Linked DNA regions of Homo sapiens: region 1 is linked to region 2. The links are contacts of gene promoters, found by promoter capture Hi-C in human tissues and cell types (Jung and others, 2019). All regions are on one chromosome and are shown on one strand. The core of a region is centred on a gene start or on the middle of the fragment in contact, and the rest is flanking DNA. Distances in the headings are between cores, read along the strand shown.

Region 1 (4,441 bases), core at 201-2,700, 870 kb after region 2:
ACGGGGGTTGATTTTAATGTTACAATTACCATAAATCTTTAACATTTTATGTTTACAAATAGACCTCAGAAAAAGGAAGCCTCTAGTAGGTATATTGCTAATGTCTCTGTAAGTAATTAAGAAAAAAGGCACCTAGACCAGATGCTAAACAAAATCCATAAGTTGATTTTCAATTTCCCAGAACTAGGAGAAAGTTTATTAAGCTCCAGTTGGTCTCCTCCATCATGCCAAAGAACAGGGCCCCCACCAGACTGATCCTTTAAGCTGCTGCTTTCAGAAGGGTCTCTATTCTTAGAAGTCTACTCCGGTGATGATTCCAGGAATTACTCTCCAACAAACTTCAGGTTAAAACTCCTGAGGCCTGTAGCCAGATTAGAAACAGATGCACCCTTCCTTTGTCCCAAGTTTAGCCACGCAGGAGTGAACATGGTCCCACACGTATGACATTGTTCAAGCAGGAGACTGTTAACTTACCCCCAAACCATTTTCTTTCTTCAAGGCCAGTTAATTTTGCATATACCATACCAATGGAGAGTGAGGAGGGTGTTAAAAAAAAAAAAAAGAAAAAGAAAAAGAACAAAGAAAGTAGAAGGCAGTTGATGATGAAAATGAACTTTATTTATTTATTTATTTATTTATTTATTTATTTATTTATTGAGATGGAGTCTCTCTCTGTCGCCCAGGCTGGAGTGCAGTGGCGCCATCTCAGCTCACTGCAAGCTCCACCTCCCGGGTTCACGCCATTCTCCTGACTCAGCCTCCCAAGTAGCTGGGACTACAGGTGCCCCCCACCGCGCCTGGCTAATTTTTTGTATTTTTAGTAGAGGTGGGGTTTCACCTTGTTAGCCAGGATGGTTTCGATCTCCTGACCTCATGATCCACCCGCCTCGGCCTCCCAGAGTGCTGGGATTACAGGCGTGAGCCATCGCACCCAGCCCAACTTTCATTGTTTTTTTAGTGAATGTGTGTGCAGCAATTTGGACATTAGATTGGAAAGTTGAAAGTGAATTGGAAAAAAGGTTTTTTTTTTTTAAATCATTGATGAATTTACTGAGTTGTGCAAATGTGCAGTTTCTAATTGGTATGTTGAGTGCCTTTCAACAGTCAGTGGTAAAGTTGGGAGTAAAACCCCGGTGACTCTCTGTCTTGTTGAATTTCTCCAGTCTGATAATCCACCACAAAAGTTTGCATTTTTCTTGAACATCCCAAAAAGGCATTTTGTACATTTGACTGCTGTCCTCATTGACCTAGGAATTCCTAGCAGGAAATTAAAGAAGATTAAGGAATTAAGAAAGGGTTGTTGTTTTGTGTGTGTGTGTGTGTGTGTGTGTGTGTGTGTGTGTGTGTGTGTGGTGTGGCAGGAGGGGCTCCATTGGTTTGTATTGTTTAATCCTTAACAGGAAATTAAAGAGGATTAAAGGTTTTCTGCCTGCCTGCATGGGAGGGAGGGGTGGAAGGGTCTATTTACATTGTTTTTCTCATTTATTTTTTCAACAATATTCATGAGCACACTTGCCCTGGAAGTGTGTCCCATGCCCTGGAATTAAACCCTAAGAATATAAAAATGAATAAGACAAGTATGTTTTCTTTTTGAAGGAAGTTAGAATCTCTTTGAGGATATAGACCATACATACAAGTCACCATGAATGTACATAACATGATTATACATTGCAATTATGACTTGTCCTATACAGTATATGAAATGAGTAGTCAATGAATTGTCTTTTTTTTTTTTTTTTTTTTTGATGAGATCTCATGATTCTCCTGTCTCAGCCTCCCAAGTAGCTGGGATTACAGGTCACCATACTGGCACAAACTGTCATTTCTTGATATTAAAGAAGTACTTTGCATTTACCTAAGTATTAATATGTGTGAGAAGACCCTGTGTGATGAAATTGAGAGCTTGAAATACAACCCTATGAACAAAAGTCTAGGGAAGAAAGTTGATAGTGCTGTGCAAATGCAGATGAAGGAATGTTCAATTCTTGCGGACAGAATTTAAGGCACTTTCTGGAGGAGGTGGCATTGGATTGAATCTTGAAAGATTGGCAGGTGCTAGCCAAATGTGAGTGCAAATATGACTAGAGGCAATTCTTGGTAGAGTGGGTGGCATGGGCAGAAATGTAGTGTTAGGAAAGGAGAGTGAAATATTAGGAAACCCAGAGAAATTTGGTCTGATGGTGTCAGTATCAAGGGGTGCTGGAGCATTGCGATGGGGTGAGATGACCCTGCCTTGGCTCACAAACAGGGTGAGTTGGAGCCATTTAATTAAAAACTTAGGAGTATGAACTTTATATTCTAGGTGATGGGGCTCCCAAATGTTCATACGTAGCCAAGCCCCCCATTTATCAGAAATAAAGGACATGGGGTGACTCTTCAGGTTCCAGATTCAGAATTGGAGTGAACTGTAAAGGTGATTAGAAGTTGTTATCAAAAATCTTCATAACTTGGTCCTGGTTGCCTTGATAGCCCAATTCCTCACTATTATGTCCCTTGCTACCAGATAAAAATGACACCAGATTTTCTTCACTGCACTGTCGTTGCTCCCTGGATCTTTGTGTATTCTGGAACACGTGCCTGGGACACACTTTTGCCTCTATATCTGGCTCTTCATTTATCCTTCAGGTTTCAGTTGAGACGAACTTTCTTCCACACAGTGTTATTTTATTCAGCAAATCTGAGTTAAGATCCCTTTTTCGGGCTCCTCCAGCCCTTGGTGTTTCTCCAGTGAGGACATGTGTCACACTCCGTGGCATTGCTTGTTTAGTATCTGCAGTCTTTTCCATCATATACACAAATAAGTTGGCTGCAAACTCCTAAGCACATTGACCCCGTGAATAAATAAATGGGACATTCTAGTTGGCTAATGTTCCAAGAGTCACAGAATATGGTTAAAAATAGACTTAGTTTTATTTTTAAAAATTACTTGCGTATTGATTAGGGTGAAAGACATGAGCAGTCTTGTTAAGACACTTAAACACACATGAGACAGACATGTGAGGTCTGTCTTTGGTGACAGAGGCATGGCAGTGTGGCCGTCTTTTTTTAAAACTTCACCTGCTTTCTTATGCCAAGATGGTAACAGCTGTAGGACCACGTGTCCCCTAGTCTCTGCCCACCCTTGCAGTTTCTTGCATTCCTGCCATTACGATAGAATTTATAAGGACCCTTTTCAAAAGAGAGGGATCAGGAAGAGATTTGACAGAGATATAAAAATAGCACCACAGTTGAGTGAATAAAAGCTTCCAGACTGAGCTGCTGTTGAAATATAAGGCAGAGAAGGGCACTGGTGCCAGTGAAATTCGCTGGTACCTCCGTACCTACAGCTAGCTGCAAATTCATTGGCACAGTCCTTGCCCCAGCGAGATTTTAGTGGCTGTGGGTTTAAAAGCCACTATGGGTTAATTGGCACTTTTGGGCACTTTGGGGACAGCAGTGGATTTCTCCATTGAAATGTCCATTCAAATTTCACATAGCCAGGTGTGGAGAATACATGGGGGACCAAGCCTGCAGGGGTTAAAAGCAGGAAATGAAGCGGAGGTCTGGAGCGGAGACTTTGGGACCAGCTTGCTGGTGAATGGTTAGGCCTGAAGCTAGGGTGTGGAGGAGCGGGGAGTGTCATCTCGTGCTGTTTCACAGGAAACTTATTATTATGGGTTTGCTTGTCTGGACCCATCTTTCCTGGGTAGTATGTGCCAACCAAGACCATATGGCCTGAATTATTTTGCTTACTTGCCTTGTCTTACATCAGTGACACAACACAGACACACACAAGCACACACACAAACACACCCCTACCTATCTTATCTTCTAGGCTCACGCTGCCTAGGTCACTGTCAGGTCAAGGTTGGTCACCATCAAGGCTGATCTTTACGGAACAGGAAGCTCTTCTGTAGTCACATTTTATTGCAATCATTAGCCAGGTGCCCAGGAAAAGCAATCAATAGTGATAGAGTAATCAGAGGAAGGCTGCAGGGGGCCCAAAGCAGCCAGGAACACATGTCTGGCCTGGGTATGACTCAGAGATTGACTGCTCCTGCCTCACATGCTTTCCACACAGAATTTAAGAAGATGAGAGTGGTGGACATTATATGTCTCCAAACCCAGCAGACGTAGGACATTCTTCATGAAGAAGGCATTGGAAACATTCTATAAAGATCCTTCCTGTTGCAAAAGGAAATCTCGGCACCTAAACAGCCTAGATGTGATATAACTAGAAACTCTCATCTACTCTGCATATCTTTACTTTAAATTTAATTCCATCATATTTTGTGGTGATACATATTTATGATGTTGAGACATTTGATTATATATAAAGAGCTCCTCAGTCATAACTAAGCATTAAATGAAGCATTCATATTTCCCTATTCCTTAAATATGTTGTTACATGTTTCTGGGATCACACCTTCCTCTCTTTTCTGTGCGGTCACTAAAGAAGGAA
Region 2 (4,192 bases), core at 21-2,520:
TATCACATTCACAACCAGGATCGGCTCTGTGCTAGCTGGTAAATCCAGCCACTATTCCTTAAAGATCTCATGTTATGTGCCATTCCCAGCACCAGGGATGTAGCTCACTTCACTCAATTGACTGAGGAAACACTGTTTCCCCATTTCACAGATGAGACACTTGAGACCTGGGGAGAGCTGGGGCTTTGGAGTACGAGATCCTGGTTCAAATCCCCACACCAGCTCATATGTTTCCAAAGCTCAGTTGCTTTCACTGAGATATAAAGAAAGAATGTATCTACCTTGTGGAGTTGTTAATGGTAAAATAATGAGCCCCACACCATCCCTTGTTCCCCACTGTGGTTTGGAAACTCTGGGTAACTTTCCCAAGGTCACCCCAGAGCAAATGGGAGAGCTGGGATCTGTACCCAGGGCAGCTGTCTCCAGGCCAGGCTCTTGGCCCAGACCTCCTGCTTCTGGGGGACTTCCTGGGCTGTGGGGGCCTTGGGGCTCTTATGCTCTAGCCTTTGAAAGGGTGCTGGTGGGAGGAATGGTGGACCGCTGTCCAGACTACAGCTCCCTTGACACATAGTGGGCCCCGATGGTGTTTGGGCAGGGAAAGGCCCAGAGGGAAAGGCAAGACCTCAAGTGCCCAGAGCCAAGCCTCAGCTTGCCTATCCTGAAATGGGGGCACTGGCTGACCGAGAGGGGCCAAGGCTCGGAGCTTCCTTTTCAGGGCCCCTCCCCAGATCCCAGCATAGAGCTTTAGTGGCGTATGGGTAGGGGGCTGAGGAGGCTGGTGTCAGGCCTTGGTAAATCCTCTCCAGTAAGGGTAAGGCACCGAGGGGAGGCCAAGGCCTGGGTGCCAGTCCTCTGCCCCGGCATGCTGGGCAACTGGGGCAGAATACTGCCCTCTCTGAGCCTGGCACTGATGAAGGCCAGTGGGCCTTTTTGAGTTGGAGAATACACTTCTGGGAGAGCCAAGCCCTTGCCCTGCCCCCCTCAGCCCCGAGATGCCCATTTGTGCCCTTGGCACTACCTCTGGGTGCACCTTCCCCGACCCTGCTCTGAGCCACGAGGAGGCCCAGCGTGCCCTCGAGGAGCCTCTCTGTCATGGGAGTGGGACGATGCCCATTCTACAGATGGGGAAGCTGAGGACCCTCCCATCTTGGGCGCAGGGTGGCGGGTTTGGGGTGGAGGGGAGTGTGGGAGCCCCCACTCACCGTGCCTGTGGGCTGAGGGATGTTTCTGTTCCGTTGGACTGCCTGTCCGTCCAGGGCTGAGCGTGAGTGGAGCTCTGTGGAGCCTGTCAGCCGACCGTCTTTGGAGGGGAGCCACACCCCGCTGGCGAGGGAGGCCTGGCTGCCTCCCCTTCAGGTTTTCCAGCTGGCCCTGGCCCACTTCCCCCTGGGATGGTTTCCTGTTATTGTTCCTTTGTGAGGGCTGGGCTGGCTGCAGATAGGCAGGCCCTGCGGTGGGCGGCTGCCTCGGCCCCGGATGGCTGTCTCCACAGAGGGCTGGCACTGGACCCTGCCTGGGGCACCCCACTTGAACCCCTACTCCCGGCCTCAGCTCTGGGACTCTGAACCCAGCACCTGCAAAGAGCCTGGCTGTGGGGACCCTTGGCTGCAGCATCACATTTAACCCTCCTTGGAATGCTACAGGCAGGTGTCATCACCCCCATTTTATAGCCCGGGAAGCTGAGGCTCAGCGGGTTTAAGGTGCTTGTCCACCCAGCTGGGGTATAAAAGAGCCAAAAATCTAGCTGGGGTCAGCCTAGCCCCAGAGCTTGATTTTCTGTGGTGATCCCATGATGTCTTTGTGGGAATGGACTTTAAAGGTGACAGGGAGGCTTCAGGAGATGGGAAAGGGACAGAAGCTCTTGGCTCTGGAGGACCAGGTTGGCTTCTCCTGGTCAGAGCGGGCATGGACTCCAGCTCTAAGGTGCCAGCCTCGGTCTGTAGGGGATGTTTGCATTTAGGGATATTGGGTGGAGTCAAGTGACCCAGCTCTGCTTCTGATGTGACCTCTGGCCAGTTGTGTCATCCTGGAGCCACAGTTTCCTCATCTGTAAAATGGGGATAATCACAGCCTCATCCTCACAAGGCTTTTGACATAAACGAGAATCAAAGAGGGGCGTGGAAGACAGTGACGCTGAGGCTGGATCAGAGCCCAGAAGAACCAAGAGGCTGGGGGGAAGGGAGGGGCCAAGATTCTGCTGACCAGGAGAGACATAGGAGGAGCTTCTAAAAACTACAGAGGACTGGGCTCACCCCAGATCAACTGATTTGGAATCTCCCAGGGCAGATCCTGGGAATCTGTCCTTTGAAGAGTTGCTTCTGTTTTTCCATGGGTGAATGGTTGGGAAGTCCCAAACTTGTTTTATTATATAGCTGGGCAAGCAGAGACCCTGAGAAAGAGAGGGCCCAGGGCCGTTTAGTAAATCAGAGCACAAGATGGGGAGTGTGATGGAAGGATATTTTTGGAGGAGGAGGGGATAGTGATTCCTCTGTCTCAGGCAGGTTGAGTTTGAGATGCTCGTTAGATACCCAGGTGGAGGTGTCAGGCTGGTGGGGGAGACAGGGGTGAGTCCAGCCTGGAGTCGAGGTTTGGAACCCAACAGCTTATGGCTGGCATCTGAGGCCATGGGCATGGATGAGCTTGGAGGGAGGGAGGACTTGGACCCTCTGACATTTGGGGATCCATTAGAAGAGGGTCCCATGATGAAGGAGGAATGCCAGGAGAGGGCAGAGGAGGAGGGCAGGGGAGTAGTCAGTGGGTCAGCCTGGGGAGCATGAGGGCTGAGACTTAACTTTGGATTTGGAAGATGAGGTCATCAATGACTGTGACCAGAACAGGTTAAACAGGAAAAGGTAGACAAGACAGATTGGAGGGGCTAGAGAAAGGGGAGAAAGGGGGACGGGGATGTGGAGTCACGTGTGACTGTAGCTTCTTCCCCAAGTCTTACAGTGAATGGGAGCAGAGAAGTGGGAGGGTTTTTTTTTTTTTTTTTTTTTTTTTTTTTTAACTATGGCAGCACGCTCATGTCCCCAGGGAGCATCCAGCAGACGGGAAGACAGATGATGCTGGAGACTGAGGAGCGACCTGCTGGAAGGAGAACAGTCCTTGGGGCGGAATTCTGAGTGGGATCCAACACATTCAACAGCCGATTGTGGAATGAACAAACAACAGCTCAGCGCTTCCTTCTCCAATGGGATTAACTCTGCTTTCTCCTGCCCAGAGGGGGGGTTGGCCGCAGAGGAGCCAGGACAGTGCTCTGTCCCCTGTGTTCCAGTCCACATCCCCCTCACCCCCGCCTGTCCTCATGGTCTACGTGCCCATGGGGATACACTGGCCTGTGCATTGCTTCCTGCTGGGTCTCAGACTCGGGGCTGTGGCAGATGGGGACAGGGCCTGTCCTGGCACCATCTGCCAATTCCCTTTGTACTCCCAGTCCATGAGGAAGTTGACTCTGCCCTGAAAACGACTGTTCCTGTGGTCCATAAACAAAGGAATGGTGAGCCAGGCATGAGCTGTGGGCCCCAGGGGTGGGGCTGGGGGTCACCGTAGCAGAGGTAGCTGAGACTGTGGGAGGGAGGCTGGTGCCTCCTTGGTCCCCCTGAGGATTTCATGCCTGATTTCTGGCACTGCCCAGCCTCTGCTCCAACCTCTCTGGAGGCAAAGGAGGTAACAGGAGGGCACAAGGCCAGGAAGTGTCATTGGGAGCAAGGAAGGCGGCTGGTGGGCTAGCAGGAAATGGGATGGTCTGTGAGACCAGATTAGTAGCAGAGGAGGAAGCAACAGTGGAGGCAGTGGGGGTGGGATGGCGGGTGGGACGACAAGGCCTGGGGACGCCCACCTGGCCTCTGCCAGGAGGAAGCCTGACCCGACAGGGAGCGCTGCTTGGGGAGGTACAGGTGTGGGGGTTGCAGACCCAGGTTTGGATCCTAGCATGACCCGTTGCTGCCTGCATGACCTGGGCAGCCGACTTGCCTCTCTGAGCTTCTTTCCTCACCTGTGAAATGAGTTATCTGTTCAGACTTTGCAGGCCGTTTGGAAGATGAAATGAGACAATGAAAATAAATGACAGGACCAGCAAGCCTTATCGAGTGGCTGTTTCTCAAAGTGTGGTCTTCAAGCCATCCATCCTGGGAGAGGGGGAGTGAATATGCAGATTTCTTGGGCCCCACTCCAGGCTGATGGGGTCAGAATG

Evidence for each region. The method cuts DNA at HindIII sites, captures the fragments that hold promoters and counts their contacts. A contact is called where the count stands out against the background at its distance.
Region 1: a fragment that was not itself captured here is called in contact with the fragment with the promoter of CDH5 in region 2 in 2 of the 25 tissues and cell types used here (dorsolateral prefrontal cortex and lymphoblastoid cells).

What each region holds. Positions count from the first base shown.
Region 1 is chr16:65,489,147-65,493,587 of GRCh38, reverse strand. The region is part of intron 2 of LINC00922 (long intergenic non-protein coding RNA 922); the gene reads left to right. Among named protein-coding and RNA genes, the nearest start is that of LINC00922, 85 kb to the left of the region's middle. The HindIII fragment of the contact is 6,107 bases long and covers 1-4,441 here.
Region 2 is chr16:66,363,769-66,367,960 of GRCh38, reverse strand. CDH5 (cadherin 5) reads right to left here and starts at 1,270. Exons shown (of 12, transcript NM_001795.5): 1 at 1,203-1,270. It overlaps LOC105371318 (a long non-coding RNA gene), which reads left to right. Exons shown (of 3, transcript XR_933687.3): 3 at 3,034-3,781. RefSeq lists enhancers at 1-17, 828-1,377. The HindIII fragment of the contact is 33,771 bases long and covers 1-4,192 here.